Regions from separate parts of the Homo sapiens genome. Here region 2 is linked to region 1. The links are contacts of gene promoters, found by promoter capture Hi-C in blood cells and fetal thymus (Javierre and others, 2016). All regions are on one chromosome and are shown on one strand. Each heading gives the region's core, a stretch centred on a gene start or on the middle of the fragment in contact. The rest is flanking DNA. Distances are from core to core; before and after follow the strand shown. Region 1 holds the start of S100G (S100 calcium binding protein G). Region 2 overlaps LOC124905249 (a long non-coding RNA gene).

Region 1 (5,006 bases), core at 828-3,327:
GATGGTTTTTAATTGCAAAATGACAATGACTCTCTCCTTTGAGTCCTCTGCTCGACTAGGCCTGACCTTGGGCTTCCCTCTCTGTCCTTGTATCTGACTACCCTTAATATTTGATCACCTGGCCTGCCTTCAGCTAGAATCCTATCAAGGCAATTTAGCCAGAAGCTCCTTATCCTGGATATTTCCTTGGTAATTTTCCATCCACTGGCCCCCCCCATCCTGCTCTATGGTCATAAACCCCCACTTATCCTTTCTGGAGTTGAGCCCAATCTCTCTCCCCATGGCAAGAACACGTTTCAGTGGTCCCTGTATGGGTCGCCATGGCCCTCCTGGAGTAAGTTGCCTTACCATCCTTGGCAAGTGTCCTGACTCAGCTTTTTCTTTAGCAAAAGGAAAGACAGTACTGTATATTGGAGTGAGGACGATCAGCTCTTCTCTGTACTCTGTTGCCTTGAATGCATTTTGATTTTGACAACTCTGGGGTGATTTTGATGTGAAACTTTATGGCCCAGGAAATTTAGTCCTTTCTTGAAAGTTGTTTAGAAATGCACGGTTGCCTCATTAACACAAATTTAAGTGATGAACACAAATGTAAATGCTTTTGAAATATAAATGAGTGCTGACAAGGCAATTTGTCAGTGGGTTTTCCTAACAGACTGCTAAGTAAGTGTTGGTCTTGTTGAGGGATTTTACATACACAAATGAAGCCTGTCCAAGGCCAGCTAACACTATTTTGCAGTCCTCTTTGTTTTCCTAAAGCCTGGCACAGAAGTACTGAATCCATGCTGAAGGCCTTATTGGGTTTGCTTGGTGACTTGTGGGTCTTCCAGGCATAACTTGGCATTGCTTCCATTTATTATGGCTAGTCCTGCAGAGTCCTGTGCTGAGGCTGCAGGAGGGATAGAAGGCTTGGCCCTTGTTTTCTGAGAGCTTGCCTTCTGAAATGTGGCCTGACTTAAGGGGAAGAAACCCCACCTGCATGTGTCCTCCCTCAAGCGACGGTCCCTATAAGGCTCTACCGGAGTCCTCTCCCCTCCCTCCCTCCCCTCCCACCATCAGTCCCATTAAGTGGGCTCTGCGGATGGCCACTTACTTTGAGTAAACTGGGGAATTCAGCCTGAATCAATAGCTTCAGTTCATCCTTTGACAACTGGTCTGGATCACCTTCTTTGGCTGCATATTTTTCAAAAATCCTCTTCAGTTCCTCAGGAGACTTTTTAGTACTCATTCTGGTGTCTTATAAATTGGGAAGAAAATAAACTTACCAAAAAGCTGAAGTACAGTTTTGTGCTGAGGGTTGTCTGCAGGATTTTAGTGCCATTGGGCCATTTCCTTGGCATAAATGGGGAAGAATAAGGAAAAGAGAATGTCGGGGTCGGAATGGCACCAGTAACTACTAACATGTTTAAAAAATAAGCATCTTAGGCCAGGCACGGTAGCTCATGCCTGTAATCCCAGCACTTTGGGAGGCCAAGGAGGGTGGATCACTTGAAGTCAGGAGTTCGAGACCATGGAAGCCTGGCCAACATGGTGAGACCCTGTCTCTATACAAAAATTAGCCAGGCGTGGTGGTGCGTGCCTATAGTCCCATCTACTTGGAAGACCGAGGCAGGAGAATCGCTTGAACCCGGGAGGCGGAGGTTGCAGTGAGTGCGATGCCACTGCACTCCAGCCTGGGTGACAGAGCGAGCCTCCGCTGCAAAAAAAAAAAAAAAAAAAAAAAGACATCTTAGATAGTATGTTAAATGTCTGTTCTTAGAGTACATCTGTTAGGAGATGGTCCCTGGAGCCAAACATTTTTATTAGTAATTAATGACATTCTACACTTTTTATGTACCTGATCTGCACTCTGCAGGCTGTGGTCTTGAAGAATACTTGACCACAGCTTCTAGCTTCTAAGTTACAGGGAATATCTCCAGATGGCATAAACTCACCTTCTCTCCAGACCATTATCTTTCACACCATTCTAAAAGGAAGCAGAGTATTAATGCAAACAGAAGGAGCTCTAGGTAGTACCAAAATCACACTAACCTGGTTGCCCAATAGTGAAACAGCTAGAAGAATCAAAGAGGAGTTTGAAGAGCTGAGCAGAATCATGACACTTTTATAGTCTTTACGGGCACGCCACCCTGATTATGAAAATTTCCTTTTGTTGGCCATTTAAGGGTAATTATTAATGGTTTTTGAAACTCAGGCTTAAGACTGCATGAACCCCATAATTAAGGGCAAGATCCAGTAAAGGTCCATCTCGACAGTTGCTTCATGGTTCAGAGTCGTAAGCTTGGATTTTTTTCCCCCTGAGATTATATTTTCCCTCCAATGTAGAATTATATTTGCTCACAGTTCACATTTCATAAAGCTTAGATATAGAGGATTCTTTTCAATTTAGTTGCATATTTAGGCTTTAAAAAATAACTTTCTTCATATCCAGAAAAAATAAATGCTGCCCTGTGCGGTAGCTCATGCCTGTAATCCCAGCACTTTGGGAGGCCGAGGCAGGAGGATTGCTTGAGGTGAGGAGTTTGATACCAGCCTGGTCAACACAGCAAGACATTTCTACTGAAAAATTTAAAAAATCAGCCAGGTGTGATGGTACATGCCTGTAGTCCCAGCTACTGTAGAGGCTGAGGTGGGAGGATTCCTTAAGCCTGGGAGGTTGAGGCAACAGTGAGCCATGATTGTGCCACTGCACTCCAGCCTGGGTGACAGAGTGAGATCCTGTCTGTAAAAAAGAAAAAATGCTGTCATAGAAGGACAATATTACATAGTTTAAAAAATTACGGTATGGCCATTGAAGTCCTTCTGATGTCTTTACATATTAGCAGCTTAAATATTTGAATACATGAATGAATGAATGGAAGTATTGCTTCAGAAGCAGGTTTAAGAAGTGGAAAGAAGATACTCAGTAATTTGTGGTTTTATTTGGCAAATCAATATTGAGTAACATGGTCATTTTTTCAGCTCTTTCATTATTTGTTGGTCCTGTGTCTGCTTTTTATTTCTCATTATCCTTTTCCTTACCAAATATATTTCGTGATCATTCGAAAAACTTGTGAGAACACTCGACTTACTCTTGTTCAGTTGGAAATACTTCAAACTTTTTGTAACTGCCATGATTTAAAATTGCCAAGGAGATTGATTTCTACTGGAAAGAGTTCCATGAAATAAGTAGGACATTTCCAAGGGACATTGATCTAATGCTGATTGTAACTCACAGGAAGGGGTTCCAGGTGGATTTTAAGAGCACTTTACAGCTTTGAAACACTTGTACACTTCCACACTTATAGAATTTTCCCTGACTCTGCCTTATATCACCTACAAACTGAGGACTGGACTATTGGGACTGTATTTCTCCCTGATGTTTCTCAGCTCTAAAATTCTAGGGCCTTATTTACATTGGAGAACAAATGGGAAATCTAATAGAATTCCTTAAAAGCTTCCCGCCAGTCTTGAGCATTTATCATTCCATGTGTCTTTGCTGTCTTGTATATATTCTTCTTGTTTTTATTATGGATTCTTTGACTTTGCTATGCACCAATATAGAATATGTATTAACTCACTGGTTGGAGTAAAGACAGGCATTTTATTTTTAGTTATAAGATTTTACACAAAAATATTCTGATTTTGGCAATGCATTTTAATCAAGATTTTAGAAAATTGCCAGTGTTTTTACACATATGTTCTGTTTTCCTGGGAGGAAGTAGGCGTTTGTGCTTAATCATAACAAGAACTATCTTTTTTTAAACATCTTTTAAAAAATATTTCAGATCTACAGAAAAGTGGCAAGAATAGTGCAATGAACACCAGTCTGCCTTTCGACTAGATTCACTAATTGCGAACATCTCCACATTTGCTTTCTCTTTCTCTGGACAGATACTTTCCTCCACCCCTGAGTCATTTGAGAATCAATTACAAACATCCAGATGCTTCCCCCCTGAGCACCTCAGCATCTGTCTCCTAAGGACAAAGACATTCTCCTATGTAACCACAATGCCATTATCATAGCCCACGTCAAATCTCTCCAATTGTTGAATAGCATCTTAAATCATCTTTTCTCTCAAATTACCACTAGTGAGCTAAAATCAAATGGGGTGTTTATTATGTTTTGCATCTGGTTTTTTTGTTTATTTTTTTGAAGCCACTTCACTGTGTCACTCAGGTTGGAGTGCAGTGGCGTGAACACAGCTCACTGCAGCCTCAACCTCCATGGGCTCAGGTGATCCTCCTACCTCAGCCTCCCGAGTAGCTGGGACTACAGGCATGTGCCACCATGCCCGGATACATATATATATATTTTGTGTATTTCTTGTAGAAAAATACAACATGGGTTTTGCCATGTTGCCCAGGATGGTCTCCAACTCCTGGGCTCAAATGATCTGCCCGCCTCAGTCTCCCAAACTGCTGGGATTACAGGCGTGAGCCACTGCACCTGGCCTATTTTTTGCATCTGAAGAAATGATTTTAATAACTATATGTCATCTTAGTAACGATATAGGATGAAAGATAACATGTTCTATATAATACACCCATATATTACATATGACGTGTGTATGTATATATAAAAATTATCTCTAAGAAAAACTTTTGGAGCAGTATTGGTTAATAGTCTTCTAGGCTACAAATCTCTTCTTTCAAGGGACAACTTCTGATTAGAATCAGCCCAATGCGGCCGGGCACGGTGGTTCACGCCTATAATCCCAGCACTTTGGGAGGCCGAGGTGGGCGGATCACCTGAGGTCAGGAGTTCGAGACCAGCCTGACCAACATGGAGAAACCTCATCTCTACTAAAAATACAAAAATTAGCCAGGCGTGGTGGTGCATGTTTGTAATTCCAGCTACTCGGGAAACTGAGGCAGGAGAATTGCTTGAACCCGGGAGGTGGAAGTTGCGTTGAGCTGAGATCCTGCCATTACACTCCAGCCTGGGCAATAAGAGCGAAACTTTGTCTCAAAAAAAAAAAAAAAAAAAAAAAAAAAAAGAATGGGCCCAATGCTGCCTATTGTCA
Region 2 (5,006 bases), core at 1,121-3,620, 190 kb after region 1:
GTATAGTCATTCATTACTTGTGATTTAAATCAAGCTAGTAAAAGGCTTAGGAGTAGCTCTGAAGATCATTTAGATTTTGAAAATTCTCAGCAGTTTTCTTCCCCTCAATCAAAGGACTTTCTAATGGTGAAAACATTTCACGCAGTAAGTGCATTAAAATGCTTTCTCAGATTTTACTACTCCAATTAATGATTCCATTTTCTTCAAGGGTTATTGACTGAAATGAGAGTGATTCCCATGTGGGAGGCATGTTCATGTACTTAATATCTGAGGGCTGCCAGCAGCCTACCTCAATGCTGTGTTCTTTGAACCTGCAACTATTAGGACCAGAGCAAGTCCATAATTGAAGTAGGTCCACACCGTGATGCAGTTTCTCCAGCTGTGGAAATTTCTAGGGCTTATCAATATCCCATGGAAAATGAGTCTCTACGAAGGCCCACATTTACTGTGCAAGTGAGAGACAAAACTATCCCTAATTCTAATGCACCTGGAGTAAAGCGATATGCGTATGCATTACACAGAATTATAAATGCTCTGGCCACATGTCATCCATCTGCACCTTCTGTGCTACCAGCAGATCATGCTGAATGATCTCAGAAATTCAGATTATTATTATGCAATATGAGAAGGATCTAGGTAAAGGCAGGTGGGGTGGATATGCTTACAGGTGTCTTCCCATATATTCTATTCATGCCTAAAGTGAAACACAGGTTTATTTTAGGGCTCATTTTTCATGGATCATTGATCATAAGTTTTAAAAACGCCTGCAGAGTGAAATCCAAAAATGTCCAAAAGCCAGTGCCACAGCAACAATAACTGCCTCACAGACGTACATTGCCTATTATGTACCATCCAGTGTATGTTAAATAGTAGACATTATATATCAAATATTACTTGTTATATATCATAATCTTGAGTTTTAATAGCTTGCAGCTTCAGAGAGTAGAGTAGGAAGCTTGGCTGCATACAGTATGTGGGATGCTCAGATAGGAAATATGTAAACACTGATGAAACACATGCTCATTCTGGTCAATAACCTCGTGTATATAACAATTATGAAATGCTACTGTAGGTGATCTTAAAAGGCTTCCTATTACATACATTCATACATCAGAATAAAATCTATTACATCTCTTCTTCAGTGTTGTGATAAGTGATACTGTGAAAATCACCTTATTGCCAGGCTTTCTAAGTAATCATGAGGAGTAGGAGAGGGTTCAGGAGAGTAACAGGTAAGAAGGTCCTATGCAGCCATAAAAAAGAATGAGATCATTTCCTTTGCAGGAACATGGATGGAGCTGGAAGCCATTGTCCTTAGCAAACTAACACAGGAATAGAAAACCAAACACTGCATATTCTCACTTATAAGTGGGAGATAAATGATGAGAACACATGGACACGTCGGGGGAACAACAGACAATGGGACCCACTGGACGTGGAGGGTGAGAGGAAGGAGAGGATCAGGAAAAATCACTAATGGGTATTAGGCTTAGTACCTGGGTGATGAAATAATCTGTACAACAAACCCCTGTGACATGCTTTTACCTATATAACAAACCTGCGCGTGTACCCCTGAACTTAAAAGTTTAAAAAAAGACAAATATATAAACAAACAGTGGTACCTTGATTCTTTAAGAGAAAAGCCATGAATTCCCCAAACTATAGACTGGTGAATTTGATATTGATTCTAAGCCAGAGGTCAGCCAACTTTTCTCAAAAGTGTCAGAGAGTAAGTAGCTATTTGAGGCTTGTGGGTCACATGGTCTCAGTCACAACGACTCCACGCTGCTGCAGGAGTGTGAAAGCAGACACTGACAATGTGTATGCGGATGAGCATGGCTGTGTGCCAACACAACTTGATATTCAAAAATGGATGGAGGGCCAGATGCAATATTCTAGAATAGGCTTAAAAGAAAAAAAGACTGTGAGTCCTTAAAAAGAGATGTGTTGATCCCCAGGAGTTTGCATGAACGCAGTGGTCCTCAGCGCCAGCAAGGACCACATTAGCCTAGCAAGGCTACACATTAGAATCACTGGGGAACCTTGAAAAATCCTGGTGCTCGGCCTATATCCCAGACTAATGAAATCAGAATCCCTGGGATGGGGTCTCAGAAGTTCATCATTTCTAGGGGATTCATAAGTGATTCCAATATGAAGCCACAGTTGAGAACCACGGTATGAAGTTGTGAAGTAGTGCCAGGTTAACCTCACTTCTTTTTCCTGAAAAGCCTCTGATAGTTGCTATTTGGCACTTTGGAGAATAATTTGCTGATCTCTGGCTTAGAATCAATATCAAATTCATCAGTCTGTAGTTTGGGAAGTTCATAGCCTTTCTCTTGAAAAACCAGGGCACCATTGTTTATTTGTTTTTTGTTTTTGTTTTTAATATTTGGACCTTCCCACCTGTTATTCCTTCCCTTCGTTCCTCCCTCCATCCCTCCCTCCCCCCTCCCTTCTTTCCTTCCTTCCCTCCCTCCATCCTTCCCTCCCTCCCTCCTTCCTTCCTTTTCCCTCCCTCCCTCCCTTCCTTCCTTCCTTCCTTCCCTCCTTTCCCTTTCTCCCTCCCTCCCTCTCTCCCTTCCTTCTTCTTATCTTTCCTTTCCTCCTCCTCCTCTTGGATAAAGTAGCCAGACAACTCTATTGGGGAAAAATAGTAGATGCTGTCCATGTGGATTTCTGCCAGCCATTCGCCAAAACTTTTCATTACTGTTCTGGTGGACAAATTAGGACAATGTGTTGGATGACAGAGCTGGGCTGTGATGAATAGAGTAGATACTATCCAGAATTCTTTCATGGCCTCACCCCTCCCCATTGGTGACTGTATAACAGGCATCCAGTAAATCTTTGTTGTGGGGACTGGAAATCCAACCTATAAGAAATAGTTGAGTGAACTAGGAATGTTTAACTTGCAAAAGAAAAAAAAATTATAGTGGAGTTTGAAGAGGGGTAAACATGACAATTGTCTTAAGATGTTTGTTGGGTTGTTATAATGAAGAAACAGATTTCTTTTGAAATTTCTAGAGTAGAAATAGAATCATTGTGGGAAGCCACCAGGAGGCATTCATTTGACAAATATTTTTTGAGCAGCTACTCTGTACCAGGCACTGTTTAGGCCCTTGAGACCTACCTATGAACATGACCTAAGATCCATGCCCTTGTGGAGTTTATGGTCTAGAGACTTATTTTCACATATCCGATGATTAAAGCTGTCAGAAAATAGAATGGGCTGCTTCAGAAGGTATTGATTGTAGGTTGGATAATCACTTATTTGAGGTCATTATTGTCAGGCCTCTGAGCCCAAGCTAAGCCATCATATTCCCTGTGACCTGCATGTATACATCCAGATGGCCTGAAGCAACTGAAGATACACAAAAGAAGTGAAACTAGCCAGTTCCTGCCTTAACTGATGACATTCCACCATTGTGATTTGTTCCTGCCCCACCCTAACTGATCAATTGACTTTGTGACAATACACCCTCCCTGCCCTTGCAATAATGTATTTTGTGATATTCCCCTGCCCTTGTGAATGTACTTTGTACGATATACCCTCCCCACCCTTGAGAAGGTACTTTGTATTATCCTCCCTTGCCCTTGAGAAGGTACTTCGTATTATTCTCCCCACCCTTTAGAATGTACTTTGTAAGATCCACCCCCTGCCTGTAAAAAATTGCCCCTAACTCAACCGCCTATCCCAAACCTATAAGAACTAATGATAATCCCACTACCCTTTGCTGACTCTCTTTTCAGATTCAGCCCGACTGCACCCAGGTGATTAAAAAGCTTTATTGCTCACACAAAGCCTGTTTGGTGGTCTTTTCACACGAACTCGTGTGACATTTATAAGCCACAAAAATCCAATAAGAATCTTTATCCTTGAGTATCTCTGAGTCAAGGAAAGTACCTTCTTCCTTCCCTCTCTTTGCACTCACCTTCCCTTCCCCCATCACTCCCCTAATCCCACACTCGTTTTCAAGGTAGCAATGTCAGAAGTTTACAGTTTGATCTGGCAATCCCAAAGCTCCAGGCAGAACAATCACAGGCAGTGAATAAAGCTGTGGACAAATTGTCCCTCTCTTGCATGACAAGGCCAATGGAGGCAGGGAGGGGCTTGCTCCCTGCTTTGAGTTTCTGGGACTAGTTTTATGTTAGTGTCATCCTGCACATCCCATACAATGGGAACGGACAATGTAGTGTTTGGGGCCATAAACATTTAAATTATGTGTCTTTGGAGTCTTGGGGTTTCAAAGACCACTGACTGGCTGGTTGATACGTAGTACTACAATGAAGTTTCCTATTTGTATGTGGTTTTTCCTTTCAACTCTTTGCCACAACCAGATACTAGTAATGGGTTGAGATGATGGGAAAGTTGTGGGGAGGAAGGATGCTGTATTTTCTTTCACTGACCACAGTGATGCACATACATATATATATATATATATATACATATATGTATATTTATATACAAACACATACACACATGTACATGTGTGTATATATAAATATACATCTATGAATATTGTTTGCTCTGTGGCTGGTGGGCAAAGGAATGAACACAGTGAGAGAGTGGAGGCAACAAAGTGGCCCCATGAAGTGTGGCACACTCCTATTTCAAATGCCTAATGCTGACCTCCCAAGAAGAGCAGAATGGAAGAATTTCACCATCTGGGGAGAATGAAGTTAAATTTGAGGGCAAGAGAACCAGGGACAATGTGGAAGACAGGCTCCTGGGAGGGCTGGCAGGAACAAGAAAGGATGCGAGCTTCAGAGAACCTAGGCACTACACCTAGGCACTACAAAGGCAGGCTTTGCTCCAGGCTGGACTTCAGGCTGAGGGGAGAGGACAGGCTAGCATGGTGAGTGTGTTGGGGGAGCATGACACAAATAAGAGATTGAGGGTCGTGGGACCCTGAGTTTTAGAGATAAGGAGGACCACAAGATTTTGTTTTTCTTTCTTAGGCACAGAGCCCAGTAGGCTTACTTACAATTACCCAGTTATTTTTTATTGC

Evidence for each region. The method cuts DNA at HindIII sites, captures the fragments that hold promoters and counts their contacts. A CHiCAGO score of 5 or more calls a contact.
Region 2: a contact is called between a fragment that was not itself captured here and the fragment with the promoter of S100G in region 1, in 1 of 17 cell types (non-activated CD4 T cells). The highest score is 5.6, in non-activated CD4 T cells.

What each region holds. Positions count from the first base shown.
Region 1 is chrX:16,647,229-16,652,234 of GRCh38, reverse strand. It overlaps S100G (S100 calcium binding protein G), which reads right to left and starts at 2,077. Exons shown (of 3, transcript NM_004057.3): 1 at 2,032-2,077; 2 at 1,094-1,236. The coding sequence starts at 1,228. All of the region lies in intron 13 of CTPS2 (CTP synthase 2), which reads left to right. The HindIII fragment of the contact is 12,685 bases long and covers 1-2,282 here.
Region 2 is chrX:16,455,202-16,460,207 of GRCh38, reverse strand. All of the region lies in intron 1 of LOC124905249 (a long non-coding RNA gene), which reads left to right. Among named protein-coding and RNA genes, the nearest start is that of MIR548AM, 170 kb to the left of the region's middle. The HindIII fragment of the contact is 2,825 bases long and covers 958-3,782 here.